Linked DNA regions of Homo sapiens: region 2 is linked to region 1. Evidence: promoter capture Hi-C in human tissues and cell types (Jung and others, 2019). All regions are on one chromosome and are shown on one strand. The core of a region is centred on a gene start or on the middle of the fragment in contact, and the rest is flanking DNA. Distances in the headings are between cores, read along the strand shown. Region 1 holds the start of SLC13A2 (solute carrier family 13 member 2). Region 2 has its middle 35 kb from the start of NOS2.

Evidence for each region. The method cuts DNA at HindIII sites, captures the fragments that hold promoters and counts their contacts. A contact is called where the count stands out against the background at its distance.
Region 2: a contact is called between a fragment that was not itself captured here and the fragment with the promoter of SLC13A2 in region 1, in 2 of the 25 tissues and cell types used here (dorsolateral prefrontal cortex and pancreas).

Annotation. Positions count from the first base shown.
Region 1 is chr17:28,471,923-28,476,141 of GRCh38, reverse strand. SLC13A2 (solute carrier family 13 member 2) reads right to left here and starts at 2,498. Exons shown (of 12, transcript NM_003984.4): 1 at 2,328-2,498. The coding sequence starts at 2,429. The HindIII fragment of the contact is 27,138 bases long and covers 1-4,219 here.
Region 2 is chr17:27,833,825-27,838,043 of GRCh38, reverse strand. No RefSeq gene overlaps it. Among named protein-coding and RNA genes, the nearest start is that of NOS2, 35 kb to the right of the region's middle. The HindIII fragment of the contact is 6,535 bases long and covers 1-4,219 here.

The DNA.
Region 1 (4,219 bases), core at 1,249-3,748:
AGAATCAAGAATGCCCCCGAGTTTTTGGCTGTTGCAGCAAGGTAGATGGTTGAAGCATTTCTTGATGCCTAAGCCAACTGGAGAAGGGCAGGAAGGGTTTTGGTTTGGACGTGGAAAAGTGTAACCTGCTTATCCTGCTTACAAAGAAAATATTCAATTAGGGAGATGGCTGGTGTTCATTGGATAATACCAGTTTAGAGTTTAGGGCTGGGGTTACAGATTGATAACTCATTGGCATAGAGATGCTTTTTAAAGCACGAGATGGCATAAGATCAGCTAGGGGAAGTGGGGACCCTGGAAAACCTCAGAGTCAGATGGAGAAGGAACCTCAGAGTCAGGAAAGGTGGGAAGGGGCAGGGCTGGGCAGGAACCAGGAGAAGGTGTCACCAAAGCCAAGAGAAGACAGCACGGCAAAGACGGGGTGACAGCTGTGACAAATGCTGCCGAGGGACTGAGGAATGTGAGGGTGGCCCAGGGTTTGGTCACAAGGAAGTTGATGGGATCTGAGTCTTGGAGATGGGAGCTGACAAAAGAGAAAGTGCGCTTGTGGTGTAGACAGTGTCTTGAGACTTCCTGTTATGAGAGAGAGCAGAGAAAGAGGCACTATCCTGGAAGGAGCGTGGCCTTGAAAGAGAGCTCTTGTTTGTTTAAGATGAGAGATATTACAGCACCTCCGTATGTGGATGGGGGAGATCAGGCAGAGAGGAAATATTTATCTTGTAGGAGAGTGAGAGGACAATTGCAGGAGCAAAGTCCTTGAGAGGGGCTGGCCTCTCCTAGACAGGACCAGAGTCAGGATGGGGCTGGCAGCATCTGTGAGCCAGAGGCAGGTAGCAGGGCCAGATACGGTGCACAGAAGACAGGGGCTCCTAACACATCCCAGTCTCACCAACAGGCATGGCTTCTAGCACTGACTCAGGATTTCCTGTGTGACCTGGGCAAGTTACTGAATCTTTCTGTGCTGTGCTTCCCCAGGTCGAGGGGAATTGGGAAGAAATCAAAATCCCTGTCTGGCTTCCCTCCTGGGGTTAACACACTTGCCCCAGCCTGTCGGAAAACCCATCTGATGGGTCCCTAGCACTGAGATGCCACCGGCTTTGGCCTGAGATGAAGGTCATCTCAAAGGTCAGCTGGGCCTTGTTACTGACCAGGTGTCAGGGGCCCAGGGGCTGTGCCACTATCACCCCCAGTCTCTCACCCCTTTGGGATACCATGAACAAAAAAGTCTGACTCAATTTCTCTATCTATGACAAAAGGAAGAAAATGGCTTGATGGGCAGTTCTGGGGGTGTGGGGTGGGGCAGGAGGCAGCAGGGTGGAGAGAAGACATGCTTTGGCACCAGATCACACCCCCAGCTCTGAACCTCCCAGCTGTGTGATTTGCCAGAGGCCGACTGACTGAAGATTGAACTTCAAGGCCTTCCCCCTGGACCCTTCCCAAAGCCCCAAACTAATTTCAGATTAATACTTTTGTGTCCTTTTTCTTACAGAGTGGGGCCCAAAAGTGTATAATATCCAAGTTCCATGAAACTTGGATCTGCCCTGGGACTTTGACTAAGTGACTTAACCTCACCTTCCCCATTTGTCAAATGGGACAGTCAGGCCTGACCTCTTAAGATGGTGGAAAAGGTTACTGGGTGCCTAGGGCAGGGCAGGCATTGGCGGCTTGATTTAATGAGAGATGAAGTTATGACTTCTGCTGGGGGCGGAGGAGGAGGCAGTGACGCCTGGTTGTGCCCAGCTCCCCCTCCATCCAGGGCACAGTTTTTGTGCTGTCTACCTGCAGCGGTCCCCTCTTCCAACTCCCACCCCTCCTCCTCCACAGACTTAGCCCTTGAATCCACAGGTGAACTCTTTCTCTTCCTGTTTATGCTCTTAAAGATGCAGACCGCCTGCAGCCAGCTTTCTCCTATTCTCCTTCCAACCCTCTTCACTCTGCTGCTGCTTACCCAGCCGTCCCCTCCCCACAGCCAGCCCATCTCAGCCGCCATGGAGCCCAGTCCAGGGCTAGGTGGGCACACAGTAGGTAGATCAGCTCCATCTGCCCCCCTTGCATCTTGTTGATGGAACTGGTTTCCTGTTTCCTAGGGCAGTAGGTTGCAAACCCACCTAAGTAATTCACGCTGGGCTCCTACAACTGGGTGCCAAGCAAAAGCCCCTTTGACCTCCTAGCCCTCAGTCCTCAGGAGGAGCAGGGGGCGATAGCCTCACTTCCAGGGCAGGGGCAGTGAGGAAGTTATGCTGGATCCTAAGGATGCCCAACCCCGGCCCAGACAGTCCCTCCTCTGCCCCCTGGAGTTATCTGTGCTCAGAACACCAAGTCCTTACCTTACTGGGGACGAGGATGGGCAGAGGCAGCAGGAGAATGGGCACGAAGAACACGATCAGGTAGGAGCGATAGGCCCACAGGGCCTGCCAGCAGGTGGCCATGGTGTGGAGCAGCAAGGGCTGCTACAGCCACTGCCTCCAGGAGCTGGGTAACAGAAGGACCAAAGATGCAGCCAAGCAGGCAGGTGGCAGGCTTATATAAAGCCAGTTGAGTGTTAACCATTGACCCAGTCTGGCAATCAGAGTGTTTTTGGAGTTGGGGAGGTGAGAGTAAGGAGGAGGGACCCACAGGCGGAGTAAAGATCAGGAAGGGAGAGGGAGAAGGAAGGAGGAAAGAACAAGGATTAAAAAACTTCAGGTTCCTTCAAGAAGTTAATCCCAGCGTTAACTCCTTCTGTTCTTGGAGGCTGCTGAGGGTGGTGCTGGAGGAGCTGGAGAAGGAAGGAGAGTCCCCCAGCCACCCTCCACAGGCAGCCCCCAAGCCACCTCCGCTGGCCCGGCCTTTCCTTTCTGCTGTTCTCCAAAGCTAGGTTCTCAGCTGAGCACTTTATGTGACAGCCTGGGTGGGGTGGCCCTGCCCTGCCCACAGAGATGCCCTAGGAATTTTCAGTCTAAGATTGACAGTAGCTAAGGCCTGGAGCAAGTCCTCCTCCTCCTCCTTCCAGGTATCGAGGACCATCAAAGTCCCTGGTCCTGACTACATCTTGTGTGACACTGATCCACCGACTTAACCTCTCAGAATTAGCCACTTCCTTATTCTGCAGTAATATCTTGCTATTGTGAGGCTCAAATTAGACAACTTATATATGTTGAGCTTTGATGCATGGCAGGTGTACGATGAAGGTTAGTTTCTTTCAGGCTCTTCCTAGCCCCCTCGCCCCCCAGCAAAGATTGTCTCTTATTTTGGAAACATACTAGATCTCTCATTTATCCATCATCCATCCATCCATCCATCCATCCATCCAACCATCCATCCATCCATCCCTCCACCAAGCAAGTATTTAGTACCAATTATGTATTCAGCCCTGTGCTCAGTGCTAAAGATACAGAGATTAAAATGCTGCTGCTGCTGCTGGTGGTAAAGACTGACATTTGCTCAGCACTTAGTACAAGTCAGTTACTGTACTTCATCAACTCGGTAACTACACCATGGGTTAGGTGTTACTATTCCATTTAACAGATGGGGGAACTGAGGCCAAAGGACATGGAGCCAGCCAGAATTCACACATGCATTATGGGTATCCTGAGGGAGGTCCAAACCAGGGCAGAAGCTCTGGGTGAAAGGCACCAGGCAAGGGCTCCTGGAAGAGATGGCATCTGAGCGAAGGCTTGAGAGCTCAGTCTTACTTGGCACGAGGTGATAGGGGAAGGGGCACAAGGAGAGGGAAGAGTGAACGAAGGCCTGGAGGGTGGCAAGTGCATGCGTGTGTGTGTGTATGTATGTTGAACGGAGCAAGTTGTAGTTTGGAAGAAATTGTGGGTCTTATCTCTGGCCAGACCCTCAGTCTCCTGGCGCCCTCACCCCTCCTCACCCTGACTGCACGCAGTTGAAGGTCAATGCATGTTTCTGAGGTTATCAGAGTATGATGATCCGTGTGTGCTAGGATAAGGAGGCGGGGTATCAGGGAGAATGTTTCAGGCAGCGAAGACAGTCTGGGAAGAGATGCAGAAGCGTGGGGACGTTTAGAGAACAGAAGGTTCTGCGTGGTTGGAATGTGGATTTGCGGGGGACAGGATTAAGAGCTGATAACTATAGTTTTAGGTGTACCATAGCATGGCCTGGGCTGTTATGCCACCGAGACACTCCTGGAGCCAGTGGATCTTTTAGAGAAAGGCCCCTGGTGCTTTCTGCAGGGCGGTCCTAGAGGTCAGAGGGATCCAGTTCGAGGGCT
Region 2 (4,219 bases), core at 1,172-3,671, 640 kb after region 1:
GGCTACACCAGGACACTTAGCTGGCAATGGCTGTCACCACCAATGAACAAATGCCAACTCTTGTCATGAGCTTCTGTGATCTATGGACTTTGTTTCAAAGCAATTTATGTGGACTTCCTTTTGTCTTTCAAAGACTCTCCTTTGCAAATTTCTGTATGTCACTTCCCTCCTTTTTGGTCTATGAATTTGTTCTGACCATGAGGCATCCCTGGAGTCTCTTTGAATCTGGTGTGATTCTGGGGACTGCCCAATTTGCGAATCATTCATTGCTCAATTAAACTCCTTTAAATTTAATTCGGCTAAAGTTTTTCTTTTAACATGACTCAACCAAGAGTTGCATGAGGTCTCCGAAGAGGTGAAAATCAGTGCTCACAAGATCCAGAATCACCCTCAAGACAGCTCAAAGAAAGAAAAATTTTGCTAGCTACAAATGGAGTACAAGCCACATTTCTGTTTGGCCATATTCTCTAGAATCTCAGCTGAGAATCTAAACACGAAGACCCCCAAAGTCCATATGCCTCTAAGATGGAAGAGGGCAGGAAATCAAAAGCGGTTCCTGGAAAGGAAAAGAATCAGTAAGTTGCAAAAGTCACATGAATATCAAATCAATAAGACTTGTTCTGTAATTTTCCATTGGGTTCTTCCTGCCCACTGCACAAATAAAGACCACAGCATTGCAGCAAAGAAAGAGTTTAATTGACATGAGGCTGGCCATGCCATGCAGGAGATTGAGTTAGCACTCAAATCAATCTCATCTCAGGCTAGTAGGTTAGGGGATTTTCAAAGGCTCTTGAGCTGAGTTGCTTCTGGGTGGGGCCACAGGAATGGAGTTGGCAGGTCTAGGTGGAGCCATGGATAGAAGACATGCAAAAAGCCTGAAAAGATATATAAAAAGGCCAATCTTAGGTTCTACAATAGTGATGCTATTTGCAGGACCCCTGGAATAATGGCTGACAGTCATTTATGTCTATGCCTTAGCAGAATTTGGGCTTCTCTCCTCCCCCTAGACTGAGGGTCTCTTATTAGCTTTACAAAGGTGGTTGAACTCTGGGGAAGGCCTATAACCTAAGTGTCTTCCAAAGTTAGCTAGGCCTAAACCCAGGAATGATTAAAGGAAATGAAAGAGGAGGGTGGGTTAGATCAGATCTCTTTCACTGTCATAATTTTCTCATTGATATAATTTTTGCAAAGGTGGTTTCAGTTCCCTGACTGAACCCAAGCTGCTGTAGTGAAATGGTGGAACTTTAGCTGCTAGACTACAGTATGGAATGGTCTTTGCTGTTATTCCTGGAGAAGATCTAAGTCATGTAGTTTTTAGCTTGCAATATTTTTTAACTTTGTTTTAGGTTATATTTTTGTTCTTTAATTTAGTCAAGAGAATTCTTAAGGCTAGCCATGACGCTATTGCATTTCCTTTTTAAAATTTGATTTTCCCATCAACTGTTTAGAAAAAGAGATCTCTAAAATTATTTTTTGAATTTAGGAGTCCAATTTAAAGGACCCCTTTTCAGGCCATTTTCCTCCAGAGTCTAAAGAATATTGCAGCCAAGCAGTACTACAATTAAAAAAAAAAAAAACTTTTTCTTTTTCATGGGCTGAAAGCTAAAAATGGCCCAGTTCTGCAGAATACACCCTAATGGGCTGCAAGGTAGAATAGAGCTTGTGTTTCCCATTTTAGATGACAAAACCATAGGTGATGAAAACCTTGCTGCCTCAGCCAGGCTTCAGATAGAGTTTCAAGCAAGTCTGTTTTCAGCAAGTCAAAACCAAATATGGTTTCTCAAGTTCTGGATCCCTTCAGCTCTCTAGTGAGTATCCCCAATCAAACCAAATACTCTAAGAAAGCAGGGCCCAGGGCCTTGCCAAAGCAAAGTCAGTTGTCCTGCCAAAGCAGAACCCAGTGTCCAAAGAAAAAAATACCTTGGGGCTGTTGCCCACAAACCTACCACTTACGAAGGACATCTTCCAAGCCCAGTGCCTTATTTTTAATGCTACAAAAGTAAAAATGCCATGGCCCATGACACCTGGTCAAGCATAAAATGCATGGATCCATCCCTGAGCAAAATAATTCAGCCAACTGCCGGACAGGGTCCAAGGGTGGCTGCAGCCAGGGGCTGGTGTGCCATGGGCAAGGCCACCGGTTGGGACTTTCGCCCCTTTGTAGTTGCCAACTAATTGTTACTGAATCCACTTGGGATCCACTGACCACTCACCTGGCACAGTAAGTCCAAACATCTACACCAAGGTTTGCAGTGGGAGAAAGGAGGATGTTTATTTGCGAGTGCCCAGCAAGGAGAATCCAGCAGCTCATGCTTAAGACCTGGCTTCCCCGATGGCTTGTTAAGGGTTTTTTAAGGCAGGGAGGCAGAGGTTACAGGCACAACTACATATTAATACATGGAGGCTATATATTGCTTTGACCTAAAAAGGGGGGATGTCTCAAAGCATTCAAAGATTCAAAGATTTTCTGATTTGCAATTGGTTAAGGAAGCAAAGCTTTGTCTAAAAATTTGGGGTCAGTAGAAAAGAATGTAAGCTCTGGTTTGTGGGTATGATTTCCTCCAGGTCCCTCAGGAAGAACTTCAGAAGAAAGAGGAGTGGTCAGAGTTCAATCCGCAGTTCCCCCTTATCTGAGGCCTGTGTGCTAGTGGATCCATTTGGTAGGGGTCCAGGTACCTGAAAAACAACTCAGAGAAACGTATGTTAAGACGTTATCGTTAGGGATAAAGGGATAAATATAATGTTCTACAGGGAACATCTTGTGACTCTAACTTCCTTGGTTATAGTTTTAAGCTACTATTACCTTCTTAATGATCAGGTCACTCATTTTCTTCTCAGGGCTAGCTAGGTGCCTGGAGTTTCCCTTGAAGAAACTCTTTTCCTTTATTTCCATGTTGCAGGGAGGGGCCTACAGGCTCCTATGAGGGGTCCCTGCTCTATCTCAGTCCTTGCCCTAAAGAATCTTACATAATTGTTCTTATTGCTTCTTTTTGGAGGTGGCAGGGATTATATCTCTGAATCTCACAAAAGCACTGGTGCTGCTTTTCCAATAGCACTTTGCTTTGCTTCTGAGCTGTTTCGATTTGTTTGTTGTTGGTTTTCATTATGTATTCTGGGAGCCAATGACTTGGCTGGGCACTTGAAATCCTACATTTGAACTTCTGGCAGCTCCCTGTCTGTTTTCACACAAATGGACTTGCTGGGATCAGTAGGGAGACACCTCTGGTCTTAATACCTGCAGCGTTGCAGGTCTGGGTGTGGTCATAGCCATCTTGGCATCCAAGTGCAATGCATTACTCATGTTTGTGGTGATGCTGGTGTAGACAAACCTACCGTGCTGCAGTTGTACAAAAATATCTCACAGACAGTTATGTAAGGTATATAATACTTGATAATGATAATACAATGACTATGTTACTGGTTTGTGTATTTCCTATACATATGTAAACAAATAACTATCATTTTTATTGACTATGTGAATATGACAATATACTTTTTACTGTTATTTCAGAGTATACTCCTTGTACTTATTTTTTTAAGTGAACTATAAAATAGCCTCAGGCAGGTCCTTCAGGAGGTATTCCAGAGGAAGGTATGTTATCACAGGAGATGACAGCTCCATGCACATTGTTCCCCCAAAGACCTTCCAGTGGGACAAGATGTGGAGATGGAAGGCAGTTGTGATATTGATGATCCTGACACTGTGTAGGCCTAAGCTAATGTGTGGTGTGCCTTAGTTTCTAATAAAACAGTTTAAAAAGTAAAAAAAAAAACAAGAATTAACAAGAAAAGCTTATAAGAATAGAGACAAAATATTTTTGTATAGCTGTGCAATGTATTTGTGTTTTAAGCTGTGTTATTATGAGTCAAAAAGTTTTTTAAAAATTAAAAAGTTTATAAAGTAAAAAAGTTATAGTAAGCCAAGGTTAATTTATTATTGAAGAAAGGAATTCTAAATGAATTTAGTGTCATCTAAATGTACAGTAAATCTACAGTAGTGTACAATAATGTCCTAGGCCTTCATCTTCACTCACCACTCACCTACCGATTCACTCAGAGCAACTTCCAGTCCTGCAAGCTCCATTCATGGTACGTGCCCTCTACAGGTATACCTTTGAAAAAAACTTTTGTACTGTATTTTTTTACTGTGCCTTTTCTATGTTTAGATATGCAAATGCTTACCATTGTGTTACAGTTACTTACAGTATTCAGTACAGTC